Regions from separate parts of the Homo sapiens genome. Here region 1 is linked to region 2. The links are contacts of gene promoters, found by promoter capture Hi-C in blood cells and fetal thymus (Javierre and others, 2016). All regions are on one chromosome and are shown on one strand. The core of a region is centred on a gene start or on the middle of the fragment in contact, and the rest is flanking DNA. Distances in the headings are between cores, read along the strand shown.

Region 1 (6,596 bases), core at 2,148-4,647, 1.5 Mb before region 2:
AAGTATTAATAGAAGAATTAAATTAGGCTTAAATCATTCCTCTGAAACCAACAGGACAGAGATAAAAGAGAGCAGAATGGGACCTTGGGTCAGGAAGTAATAGCATGATAACAAGTGATGGTTAGGGTTCATGGAGGCAGTCAAGATAACTTACATTTTAGGAAAGTAGATTTAAATAAGTTTAGAATAAAGTTACGATCCCACAGTTTTGAGTCTTGCACTTTGTGAGGTGTGCAAAAATAAAAGCCAGACTTTACAACTACAAACTATTATAGTGAAAAGAAAAGAGAGCAATTTATTAACAAAGACTTCTTTGGAGTCTCTCCTTAGAAACCAGAATTTGGGAGGAGTTGTGTACTTGACTTTTGTTGAAAAGAGGACTTTATAAACAAGTTCGCACGAGTCAAAGGCTGCCTGAGAGTGCCGAGACCAGCTCGGTCGGGCAGACCCTAACCCAGCGGCGCTAGAGGAATTAAAGACACACACACAGAAATGAGCTGAGAGCCCCGAACAGAGATTTACCCACGTATTTATTAACAGCAAGCCAGTCATTAGCATTGTTTCTATAGCTATTAAATTAACTAAAAGTATCCCTTACGGGAAATGAAGGGATGGGCCGAATTAAAGGAATAGGTTGGGCTAGTTAACTGCATCAGGAGCATGTCCTTAAGGCACAAATCTCTCATGCTATTGTTTGTGGCTTAAGAATGCCTTTAAGCAGTTTTCCGCCCTGGGCGGGCCAGGTGTTCCTTGCCCTCATTCCGGTAAGCCCACAACCTTCCAGCGTGGGCTTTATGGCCATCGTGAACACGTCACAGTGCTGCAGAGATTTAGTTGATGGCCAGTTTTGGGGCCAGTTTATGGCCAGATTTTGGGGGTCTTGTTCCCAACAGAGAGTCACCCCCAATAAGCTAAAACTTGGAGGAAATGGTAAGGCCAACAAAAAGAGCTCTTTAAAAGTTATCTTCATAGAAAAAAAATTAAAAATTTGCAGTGCCACTGATTTGGAGAAAAGGCATAATGTTCACAAATGGAAATGACAGAGACGAAACATACAATTCCCTTTATTTCCAAATTTTTGCTCAAGGAGCATGATCATCATATAGAAACAAGTGTAACAACTATTTAATAGGAATGCTGATAACTGGACCATATCCAGAGGAGAGATATGGCATGTGAAGAATGGCTGAAAGAAATGACAATGTTTATCCCTGAGTGCATTACGGGGCACAAGAGCTACCTTTTCATATTGAAATGCTGTCTTTTAGAAGAAGAGTTAGTTATTTCTGTTGTATGTTGTAGATGGGTGAGGAAGAGAGAAGGACAAGGGGAGAAAGAAAGAAAATGGTCAATTTATAAAAATTACAGGAAGTTGAATTTTAAGTCAAATCAAGTAATCACCTTTCACCTATTGGGTTTCTTCATACATAGTTTCCCCCAAAACAATTTTTTTTTTTTTTTGAGACAGGGTCTCTCTCTGTTACCTAGACTGCAGTGATACAATCATAGCTCACTGCAACCTTGACCTCCTGGGCTCATGTAATCCTCCTTCCTCAACCACTGGAGTAGCTGGGACTGTAGGCGCATGCCACCATGCCCTCCTAATTTTTGTGTTTTTTGTAGAGATGTGGTCTTGCCATGTTGTGCAGGCTGGTCTTGAACTCCTGGGCTCAAGCTATCCTCTTACCTGGGCCTCCCAAAGTGCTGGGATTACAGGCATGAGCCACTGTGCCTGGTCCCAACATTTTGTTAGGAAATAATTTTGAACACACAGCAAAGCTGAACAAATTTTACAGTGAATACCCATTTACAATGAACCTAGATTCTACCATCTAGATTCTACCATTATATTTTACCATTATATTCTACCATTATATTTTACTATATTTGGTTAATCACATATTTATCCATCTATGCGCCCCTAAATCCATCTTATTTTTTAGATACATTTTAAAGGAAATTTTATATACTTTTGTCTGACACTGGGAAGGCAATGCACCTTAATCCCACAAGCTTTCTTACAGAGGCTAATAGCTGTTTACTGGGGACACTGTAGTGAGGATTTCTGCATTGAGTAGGTGAAGAGGACCATAACTGTGGCTTTCAAACTTTTCTGACTGCTACCCTTACTAAGAAATGTATTTCACATTCCTATCCAGTGTACACCACATACATACTGAAGTAAAAATTTTGGGACACAATATTTACCCTTTACATGTGTGAAGCATGCTGATATTTTCTATTTTATTTCATTTAAAAAGATGCTGGGCATGCTTCCCTAACTTGATTTAGATACCCACTAATGTACTGTAATTTACCATTTGAAAATCATTGTACTTAGTCCAACTCCAAGAAGATTTTTCTTTTTAAAAGAATCCTGTGGCTACTACTAGAATTTTCCTTATGTTCCCAATTATCAAGAACCTGTTTTGAGTCTCAGCACAGTACTTACTTAACATGCATGGCGTTAAGGCACGTGTAATTAAGAGAAAAACCTTAAATGCCTGCTAAGACTTCTGGATAGAGCCAATTCAAAGATTCTTTATTAGTAAGTTTACCAATTATTACTATTTTTTTTTTGAGACGGAGTCTCGCTCTTTCGCCCAGGCGGGACTGCGGTGGCCCTATCTTGGCTCACTGCAAGCTCCACCTCCCGGGTTCACGCCATTCTCCTGCCTCAGACTCTCCAGTAGCTGGGACTACAGAAGCCCGCCACCGCGCCCGGCTAATTTTTTTTGTATTTTTAGTAGAGACGGGGTTTCACCGTGTTAGCCATGATGGTCTCGATCTCCTGACCTCGTGATCCGCCCGCCTCGGCCTCCCAAGGTGCTGGGATTACAGGCGTGAGCCACCGCGCCCGGCCCCAATTATTTTTACAAAGAGTAAGATAAAGATATGTACTCTTGGATGGGTGGGAGGGTTCAGTGCTCATATAGTCTTCTGTTAAATTAGGTTATTAATGCCTGCGGTGGTTCCAACAAAGTAGAGAAGAAGATCAAATAAGAAAATGGATGGGAAAGTACTTTGAAAACTAATGTTTTATTAATACTGTTGTGTGATGCCAGGAAGAAAGGGATGTTGCGATCAAGCTCTAGGGAGGCAGTGTTTCAGTATTTTAAAAACTGTTTTTGTGGAACTGTTAAGTTAACCTCCCCAAGCCCCAATAACTACGCTTTGACGCAAGATTCTCAGAAGAGGGTAGAAGCTATGAACTTGGAGAGGTTTGGTCGCGAGTTCAAGCGTACTGCCCCGTTGGCGCATGCTCAAGAGCGACTCGGGCCTCCTTGCTGGGTTAGGCAGAACACGGAGGGCGGAGTTCGGACCACGTGGGGTCTCGTGACGTCATCTCCGGGCGCCGAGGGTGACTGGACTTGTGGTGCGCTGCCAGGGCTCCGCAGCGTTGCCGGTTGTATTCGCTGGATACCAGAGGGCGGAAGTGCAGCAGGGTTCAGCTCCGACCTCCGCGCCGGTGCTTTTTGCGGCTGCGCGGGCTTCCTGGAGTCCTGCTACCGCGTCCCCGCAGGACAGTGTGTCAGGCGGGCAGCTTGCCCCGCCGCCCCACCGGAGCGCGGAATCTGGGCGTCCCCACCAGTGCGGGGAGCCGGAAGGAGGAGCCATAGCTTGGAGTAGGGTACGTGTGTGTGTCCACCTTGTGTGAGGAAATTCCTAGAGGAGGAGGGCTGGGGAGGGGCCAGGTAGGTGTGGTAGGAAGGAGGGGTGAGTAGTTGCCTGGAGGAGCGCCCGCCCGGCCGCGATGGCGGGTGAAGGTGGTTCCTCCGGGCAAGGTGGAGTTGGCGAGACGCCGGCCCGGAGCCCTGGGGCCGGTTGGCGGGTGTGGCCTGCGGGGTCCCTCTTGGGGTACATGTCTGTTGCTTACTAAGGTAGGAAAGCGAGAGTCTAGTCGCAGGCTCTAGAGTTCAGTTCAGGACCTGAATTGTTTGTGGAACACAGTTATTTAAACCTTTATTGCACAGTGCAGTGTGAGTCTGTCCAAACTCGGTGGGTATGTCCTCCAAGCAATTTATCTATTTACGATATTCCCTGTCTCAATAACAATATTTAGTGCTACCAAAGACATTTTCTGTTGGCAAGACACTTTTACATACTTCATTTGTACTTTGGATTATTTTAAAATTATCCTGAACTTGAGGAACCTAGGAAACTATTGGTTCTAGATTTTTCTGAGGGGTGAGGAGGTACAGCCTGTCTTGAGCAATCAGAACCCGGAGACTTACCAGACAGTAGCTGAACTTCCAAAGCCTTCCAGAATTGGCTTGTTAAATTTCTGAGACCTTGAAACTGGATACTTGGCTCTGAACTGAACTATTTGTGATTTCCATAGAGGGAGTTTCTGGTTGAATTTTGAATTTGAAAATAACGATGTTGTGCTCAGGGTAGTAATTGAGAGGTATTTTACACCAGATTTAAGCCTGTGCTTTTATCTTCAAAGATATGCTACTTAAAATTGGGGGAAAGTGTACAGAATGGAACTGTATGGATATGGATTTTTAGAATAGTGCACACACCTCAAGTGTGTATTTATTTCATTAATTTCCCCCAAACTGAGTACCTCCTATGTGTTAGGCACTGGACAAAACAGTAAACAAAATAGTAAACAAAAGAATAAAAATCCCTGCCATCATGAAGTTCCACTTTGGGGATGGGGTGAGAAGACATTGATACAAAAATTAAGGTACAGTCTTTCCTGTCCCTCGGCATCTGTGGGAGATTGGTTCCAGGACCTCCCTTGGATACCAAAGTCCTCAAATGCTCAAGTCCCTGATATAAAATGGTGTAGTGTTTGCAGATAACCTATGCACATCCTCCTATCTTTAGTTCAACTCTGCATTATTTATAATGCGCAATACAACTTAAATGCTGTATAAATAGTTGTTATGGTGTATTGTTTAGGGAATAATGACAAAAAAGAGTCTATACATGTTCAGTACTGACTTTTTTTTCCTTCCCCGAATATTTTTTCATCCATGATTGGTTGAATACAAGGACGAAGAACCCATGGGTAGGAAGGGCCAACTGTGTACGTCAAGTGGCGGAAAGTGCTAGAGAAAAAAACCAAAGCAGTGCAGGGGTATAGGGAATGCCAAGAGATGGGAGTGGTGGCCATAGAAAAGATGATATTAACTTGGAGGCCTACGGGTGATAAAGAAGGGTGCCACTTGGAAGGAGCTGCCACTGAAGCCCTGAAGCAGGCGCATACTAGCTAGTTTGACTGGAAAATAATGAACAAGAGGGAAAGAAGTAGTGGATACTTAGGTGGAAATGGGGCCAAGTCATTTAGGAGCATGTGGGAATTTATAAGAACCTTAATTTGTACTTTGAATGAGTTGGGTTTTGAGTAAGCAGTGAGTTGATCTAACTTGTGTTTTAAAAGATCTGATTGCTATGTTGACTGTATGCAGCAGGTGCAGAAATAAGAGTTGTTAGTAGGCCATTGACTGCATTTATCCAGGTTAAAGGTCGAGGTGACTTGAATCAGGGTAGTAATAGTGGCGGTAGTGCGAAATGACCAGATTCTAGACTTTTGAGAGCAGTCAGGTAGAAGAAGGGTCAAGGACGACTCCAAGGGTTACGGACTGAGCAACTAAAGAATATAACTTGGCCGGGCGTGATGGCTCATGCTTGTAATACCATCTTTGAGAGAATCCCCAGCCTGGGCGACATAACGAGACCCTGTCTCTACAAAAAAATAAAAAATTAGCTGGGCATAGTGGCATGAGCCTGTAGTCCTGGCTACTTGGGAAGCTGAGATGGGAGGGGAGGATCACTTGACCCCCTTGAGCTCAAGGTTACAGTGACCCATGATCCTTCACTGTAGTCCATCCTGGGTGACAGCAAGACCCTGTCTCTTTAAAAAAAAAAAAAAAAAAAAAAAAAAGGACTTTTCCACTTAGCGAAACGGAAAAGACCACAGAGTGATAATGATAGGAGAACTTTTTGTTGGGAGGCCAAGGCGGGCGGATCACGAGGTCAGGAGACCGAGACCATCCTGGCTAACACGGTGAAACCCCGTCTCTACTAAAAATACAAAAAAACAAACAAACAAAAAAAACAAACCCGAGCCTGGTGGCAAGCGCTTGTAGTCCCAGCCACTGGGAGGCTGAAGCAGGAGAATGGCATGAACCCGGGAGGCAGAGCTTGCAGAGAGCCGAGATTGCGCCACTGCACTCCAGCCTGGGCGACAGAGCGAGACCCCGTCTCAAAATAAAATAAAATAAATGATAGGAGAGAGGAGGAAGGAAGATCTGAAATGGTTTTCCGTTTTGCATATGTTAAATTTCTAAATGGAAATGTCATATGTGGTGGTATATGTGAAGCCAGCCAGTTCAAAAGAGAAGTCTGGACAGAAGATAAAACTGTGGGAGTGTAAATGTATAAGTGTTATTTAAAACCATGTGAGAGATCTTCAAGGGAGTGGTTCAAGGACTGAGTCCTGGGGCATTTCAACATTTACAGTTTGGAGAGATTTACAAAATTTCCTCCCTCCCAGGGTGGGACTGTTGAGTAAAATTCCTCTTGAGAATCACTGATTCACAGTACCTGGATAGAAGGAAATAGAAAGCAAGGTCATTAGCTGA
Region 2 (7,106 bases), core at 3,002-5,501:
TGCACTCCAGCCTGGGCAACAGAGCAAGACCCTATCTCAAAACGACAACAATAACAACAACAACAACAAAAACTAATCAAGATGAAATCCAGCAGGACAAATGTAGGATCCTTCACTTTGATTAAGAAATTCTGTAGCATGGGTACTGGATGAAAGTGTAGTTTAGTGAGACCCGTGGCTGCCTCTCATTGCTAACTCCAAAGTCCCTTCTACTGGCTTATGTGTCCCCTGCATTTCCTGCCTCTACTTCCAGACCTACAGTCTGCTTTGTTTTTCCTTTGATAGCTTCCTCTGTCCACTCCATTTCTTGGGATTTTCAACCTACCCTACCCTGGCTTTGGCCATGGTCTTCCTAGTTGCCACCTCAGTGACACTGCTCTGAAGAAGGGCACTCGGATGCGTTGTATTTTTGTAACTGTAATATATGTGCTTTAAAAGGATGTGTATTCCCTCTTCATTAGTAGTGAAGTGAATGTTCACACGTGCCCTTTAATGAGACTTGTAGTTGAAGTTTTTTAATCTTCTGTATCTTTAACTGTCTTTTTCTGCTAGCTTTATTCGTTTCAGAGCGAAGGGTGTGAAAAATCTAGCACCATGGTGTGGAACTTATACTTGTAATTCTGTCAAGTGTAGCTTTATTTTTAGTCTATGTCTTTAGGTGTAGGTTCAGGACTAGTATAAACTTTCTGGTAACTCTCTTTGACTCTAATAATGTTTTTTCCTTTAAAATTTATTTTGCTGATATTAATATTGTTCATGATAGTTAATTTTCTGTGCCAACTTGGAGGGTGTTTTTGGAAGAGATGAACATTTAAATTGGTTAAAGCAGATTGCTCTCCATAATATGGGTGGGCTTCATCCAATCAGCTGAAGGCCTGAATAGAAGAAACAGCAAGAGGGAATTTTTCAGCAGACTGCCTCCAGACTTCATCTGTCTTACTAGCTGCCCTGGCCTTTGACTGGAATGGCATCATCAGGTCTCTTGGGTATTGAGACCGCTGGTCCAAACTGTAGATTTTGGATTTGCTAGCTTCCATAATCACGTGAGTCAATTTCTGATAATAAATCTCTTTCTCTCTCCATATATATACACACATTCTACTGGTTCTGTTTCTCTAGAGAACCCTGATATATTTTTATATCACATTTATTTGGCTAATATTTTCTATGGTATCCCTTTTTTCCATTTCCTTTTGGAAATGGTGGTCCCTTAGAAACAGCAAATAGCTGTTTTATTTGATCTTTTCAGATGTAAGAAATAAATCAGATCAAGTACAAATTGCGATCCAGGATATTTTGAGTCAGTGTTGAGAAGCTTGCCTTACTGCATTTCCCGTACAGTTTATAAAGCGTAAAGATGAAGTACTTTGGCCTTTTTTCATGATTGTCTGTTATACATTAATTTTTTTAGGGAAACTATTTAAGCTGATTTGTCTATAGCTGATTGGCTTAGTTTCACTGAATCATGCTGACAAGGATATAAACCTTGCGTTTTGTGTTTATTATTACAGATGGTGTTTTGGGGAAATGAGGATGATGAGTTTTGGTTTGTGGTTATACACAGTTGGACTTGGGTATATCTAAACTGTGGCCTCCATTTTTATTTTTCTTTAACACACTATCTAAGACCTCTATGTTTTAGAGTAAACATTGAGTTTACTCTGTTTATATTTTCTGTGACCATGGATATATTTAGATTTATTTCTACTGCTACTTTATGTTTTGTTTTTATGACCATTTTTCTTTGCTTCCCACCCATTTCCTGCCTTTTGTTGAACAGATTGTTTTTCTCTTCTCTTTCCCTTAATGCTTGGGAATCTTCAATAAAACCAATTTCCAGGAAGAAAAAAATACCAGATATACAAAAAAGAAAGTTGAAACTGTCTGGGCCACAGAAGAACCTGGGTTATCATTAGTGAAAAACTCTACGCTTTTGTTAATGGAACTTATGATACAAAGTGCCCTTTTGAAACTTCCACTTGATGTTTTTGGTGTTGGTGACAGGTGAGAAAATCTACTCTTTAGCTAATAATAATCTATAAGAAGCTGTTTAGCTGTTTTGGTGTTCTCCTGGGCAGCTTTCTTCTTGGTGTGATAAGTTGCCCTGTCTAATACGGTAACCACAAGGCACATACAGCTATTTAACTTAATTAGTTTCATTACTTATACTTTAATACAAATTTAAAATTCAGTTGCACCAGCCACATTTCAAGCACCCAGTAACCCCATTTGGTTAGTGGATGCTATTTTGGACATTGCAGATTATAGAATATTTCTATCATTGCAGAAAGTTCTGTTGGACAGGAGGTGATAAGCTGATAGTAGTACTGCAGCTTTATACATTTTGAAGCAGAGCTATTGGGAGACGGCATCATATTGCAGAATTTGGAACTGACAATTCACATCAGCATTACCTGTTCCATTATCTTCTGCTCCTGTGGTGAACAGTGACCAGCATGAGATGCAATGCCCACCATGGAGGCTGCTGGGGGCTCCTACCCCTGCCCACAAACTCCAGGCTTGGTCCTCACAGGACGTTGGAGGTAATTTATATGGAGCAACAGCCTAGAGAGCAATGGTGATAACAGCAGCTGAGAGAAGCTGAGGGGCCAACTTCTGTACAGCAGTGGGAATCCTGACTTTTTGAATAGCATAAGAGGCCAAGCAAGACTGGAACATTTTTAGTTGAAGCCAGGTTGCAAATGGTTGAGCCTGGGCTAGACTGGTCCATAACGTCTGGTATTTCTTTCTTCCTTTCCTTTTTTTTTGAGACAGGGTCTCGCTCTGTCACCCAGGCTGGAGTGCAATGGCAGGATCTCAGCTCACTGCAGCCTCTGTCTCTCGGGTTCAAGCGATTCTCCTGCCTAAGCCTCCCGAGTAGCTGGGATTTCAGAGGCACACCACCACGCCCGGCTAATTTTTGTATATACATATTTTTAGTAGAGACAGGGTTTTACCATGTTGGCCAGGCTGGTCTCAAACTCCTGACCTCAAGTGATCCGCCTGCCTTGGCCTCACAAAGTGCTGGGATTACAGGCATGAGCCACTGCGCCCAGCCTCTGGTATTCTTTTGAAACTTTGACCTCTACCACCTTGTTGCCAGACTGGTTTAGGTATCATCTGATTAGGTGAAGATTACAGAGGTCTTCCCCGTGCCTGTGGCACCACTGGCACAAATGGTCACTAGCTGGAACTGATTTAGGACGGCACTGGCAGGGAAAACACATGCCAACCACCATCTGCCCCTTCATATCCTGAATGGGCAGGTGAGACTCTCTTTCACTTGGCCAGCCAACATACATCATCAACGTACATGTGCCCATTCATTTCAGGAACAGCTTTGTCTCTTTGAGGAAGAGAAGCTGAAAAAGACAAGCCTTTTGTTTCTCCCTCACTCCAGCATCATCTTGGCACTGGTAATATATCCAAGATATATTGGTGTTAGCCAGGCTCACATTTACCCCTTTGATTGGGTTAATTTTTTGAAGTTCCAACTTCTGTTGTTTCAAGTGTTCAACTTCTGTGCAGAGCTTATGAATATGATTTTTCGCCACTGAGTTCATTTCTTCCACAATGTAGGTATCCAAATTTTTTGTAACTTACAAAGTCAAATCCTTTGGATTTCCCACTAGGCTGTGTCATCACATAGACACTTTAGCATTGTACCAAATAAATGAAAAAATTTTTTCAGGTTGTCATCATTCATATCTTCCCCAGAGCTTTAACTTTGTGCTAGGTGCCTTGTTAAGTACAGGGATACAACACAGTTCAAGATTAAATGTCCCTGCCCTCATAAAGCCGCCCGGCAGGAAAAACAACTAATTAAGCTATTGTCAAGTTATTTACAATGAAGACAAAAGCACAATATGCTTTTGGATTTGTTTGATTTTATTACTCTTTAAGTTTGACATATGAAAATACCATACTTAAAACAGTTCATGTAGGGTACCTGAAACAAAGGCACTAATACAGTACTAGAAAGGTGGTGACGGATTTAAGAACAATTGTGCCAATTTCTAATCTGTTTTATAGTAAAGTTATAGAATTGGAGGAAACTGCTCCTGTACAACTTTGGAGGAGGGTAGGAGGAGCAGGGCGTGAGAATGCCTTTCCAGAAGCTTAGGAGTACGCCCAGTCGCTGCGTGGCTTCCCGCATACTCAGCCCTGCGCCCGCGTTGGCGTGGCCTGGGCGCCCCCAACGTGACTCCGCCCAGGGCGCTCCGTTCTGCCAGCTGGAAACTACAGTTCCCAGAAGGCCACGCGAGCCCGGGAGGGACGCGGCGGCGGGGGCTGCAGGAAAGGCGCGAGCAGAGGCGGCGGCGGGTGTACTGTAGGTGGTCGGTCCGGCAGCAGCCCGGCCCCCGGACGCAGGACGTGGCCCCAGGCAGCCCTCGCAGCTCAGTGCTCTAGCCGGGGCAAGCCCGCGTCTCCGCCTGCTGGACGGGCCCAGGCGAGATGTAGGGCTCTGGGCGCGGAGGCCGCCGGTGGGGCGGCTGATCGCGGAGGATCGCGGAGGGCGCGCCGAGGATGGAGAGAGCGATGGAGCAACTCAACCGCCTGACGCGCTCGCTGCGCCGCGCGCGCACCGTGGAGTTGCCCGAGGGTGAGCCGGGTCGCGGGGCCAGGCTGGCCGCGGGGCTGGGGGCGGCCAGTGGGGCAGGAGCTCCGGCCGCGTCAAGGTCGGGTGGAAAAACTAACTGAAAGCTGAGAAAACGCCCACTTTTACTTTCCAGAGCTGAGAGGCGGCCCCGGGCCCCGAACTCCCCTGGCCCGACGCTCCCACCCCGGCAGGTGGGAGTTTTCGGGAGGAAACTGGGTTGGTGGGGGTTCCGCTGCTGGGAGGAGCGAGACAAAGGTCTCGCAACGTCTGTCGATTAGGGGTCTTGGCAAAGGGGCAGGAATACCAGCCGGAGGCCCGAGACCCGGAGTCAGAAAACATCATAATTGCGGGTCATTTAACAGTAGCTGGGGATAGAGATGATCCAAAGATACTGTTTACTTTAAGCTGCATCGGGGGGCCAGGCGGGCTTTTATTTTTGTTATTTTTTAAAATGTGGGGCACTGCCTTGTTTTGATAACAGGCAAACAAAGGGTTGTCAAACATCAAACAGGTACTCTTAAAGTACTGTATGGGTAAACACAATATATTTTTCTTTAATATGCATGCCTGCCTTCATTCTTCATTTATTCATCAGACTAGTATTGAGTGGGCTAGCTGGTAACTAGGACGCATCTGCAAAGAGGAATAAGGCATGGTCCCTGAGGATCAGGACTTTTAGTTCAGCGTGCCAGGGTTCCCTCAGGACAGGTAAAACTCTGCTAATAACAAGGAGAGAAAATAAGCAGTTTTGTTTGCAGCGTCAGGAATTCAGACATTTTAGTGGTGATGGGAGACAGCAGTGCTGCTTCTAAGAAGCTTTTGGCTCTTTATGCCCAAGTGAGAGAAGGGTTGGGAGGAGGTTGTAGCTGGTGAATAGCTTTTTTCTTAATTGTAGTAGTTTATCTTACTTTTTCAAAACTCTCTTTGAATTGCTGCTGGGTGGTTTGTAGGATAGGGAAGGAGACCTTGGCAGACGGTCATGAAAGAAATGTGGGATTGGGTACTTTGGCGATAATTTTCTTTCCTTTCTTTTATAGAGATGAGGTCTCACTATGTTCCCCAGGCTGGTCTTGAACTCCTGGGCTCAAGTGATCCGCACCCTGCTCCCCCCAAAGTGTTGGGATTACAGATGTGAGCCACCGCGCCTGGCCTGGGGATAATCTTCTTGAAAAAATGGTCTCTAGTCTCTATTTAGAATTCAGATTTTGGTAACTAGATTCTAGCTTCAACTTTTTCTATATTTTCTTTCCAACTTCCACCTTTGAATCCATTTCTTAAGTGCTACTCTTACTTATTTTTCGTAGTCGAATTATTGGTATAGCTTTATGAAGACTACATGTATAATTTATATTGTCTAGTTTGAATCCCGATATTTTTTACATAAATGTGATTTAGAAGACTTTGATAATGTTACTTGGTTTTAAAAGTAATATAGTTTCATTGTAGAAAATTTGGAAAATAAAGAAAAATAGAAAAAAATATGTCATTTCACCATCCAGTTATAAACAGTGTTACCATTGTTATTTCTTTTTCCCTCCCTAACAAGTTAAAATCATGTTGCATATAGTCTTTTATTTTGTGTTTAGAAAACATCCTTTTTTTTTTTTTTTTTTGAGACGGAGTCTCACTCTGTCGCCCAGGCTGGAGTGCAGTGGCGCCATCTCGACTCACTGCAAGCTCTGCCTCCGGGGTTCACGCTATTCTCCTGCCTCAGCCTTCCCAGTAGTTGGGACTACAGGCCCCTGCCACCAGGCCCGGCTAATTTTTTGTATTTTTAGTAGAGACGGGGTTTCACCGTGTTAGCTAGGATGGTCTCGATCGCCTGACCTCGTGATCTGCCCGCCTCGGCCTCCCAAAGTGCTGGGGGATTACAGGCGTGAGCCACCGTGCCCCGCCCCAAATGTTTTTTTTTTTTTGTATTCTTCAATAGGCTTAATGACTTCAGAATTTCATAGGATGCATGTAACAAATGTTGAATCTAAATACTGTTTTTAAACTGATTTTATGAGAAACAGCTTTGTATTTAAGACATAGTCTGCCTCTAAATACTTCCTTAGGGTTAATTCTTACAAGAAGAATATCTACAATACATTTCTAAGGCTCAACATATCAGTTTCTCAACTTACTCCTTGGAAAGTTCCACCAGCAGTCCGAGAGTGCCCAGAAACTAGAGTATTATTAGTAAAAGTAAAACTTTTCCACATAGGCAAAAATGGCATCGTTTGCATTTGCTTTTCTTTGATTATAATGTTCATTTTGTTCCTTGAATTTAATTTATCTTTGTCTCTAAGCTCTGATGAGTCTTTGAATTCTCTGAGCTTGGCTCTTTAAAGTATATCATACATATAGGAATATATATATATATATGTAAATATATATGTAAATATATATGTAAATAAATATATATATGTAAATATATATATAACATTCCTACTGATACAAATCCACATTTGTGCTTACATTTTAAGAGCTGAATGGAAACTCTGAGATCTCTCTAAATTTAGAA

The links. The method cuts DNA at HindIII sites, captures the fragments that hold promoters and counts their contacts. A CHiCAGO score of 5 or more calls a contact.
Region 1: the fragment with the promoter of ATG5 here is called in contact with the fragment with the promoter of HACE1 in region 2 in 4 of 17 cell types (naive CD4 T cells, monocytes, non-activated CD4 T cells and 1 more); the score reaches 7.4 in naive CD4 T cells.

Annotation. Positions count from the first base shown.
Region 1 is chr6:106,322,561-106,329,156 of GRCh38, reverse strand. It overlaps ATG5 (autophagy related 5), which reads left to right and starts at 3,397. Exons shown (of 8, transcript NM_004849.4): 1 at 3,397-3,631. RefSeq lists enhancers at 3,198-3,517, 3,538-3,587, 5,235-5,735, 5,736-6,236. The HindIII fragment of the contact is 6,577 bases long and covers 2,016-6,596 here.
Region 2 is chr6:104,857,064-104,864,169 of GRCh38, reverse strand. It overlaps HACE1 (HECT domain and ankyrin repeat containing E3 ubiquitin protein ligase 1), which reads left to right and starts at 4,251. Exons shown (of 24, transcript NM_020771.4): 1 at 4,251-4,603. The coding sequence starts at 4,528. It also overlaps the pseudogene LOC100422315. RefSeq lists enhancers at 4,162-4,456, 4,071-4,570 and a silencer at 4,193-4,822. The HindIII fragment of the contact is 1,298 bases long and covers 4,121-5,418 here.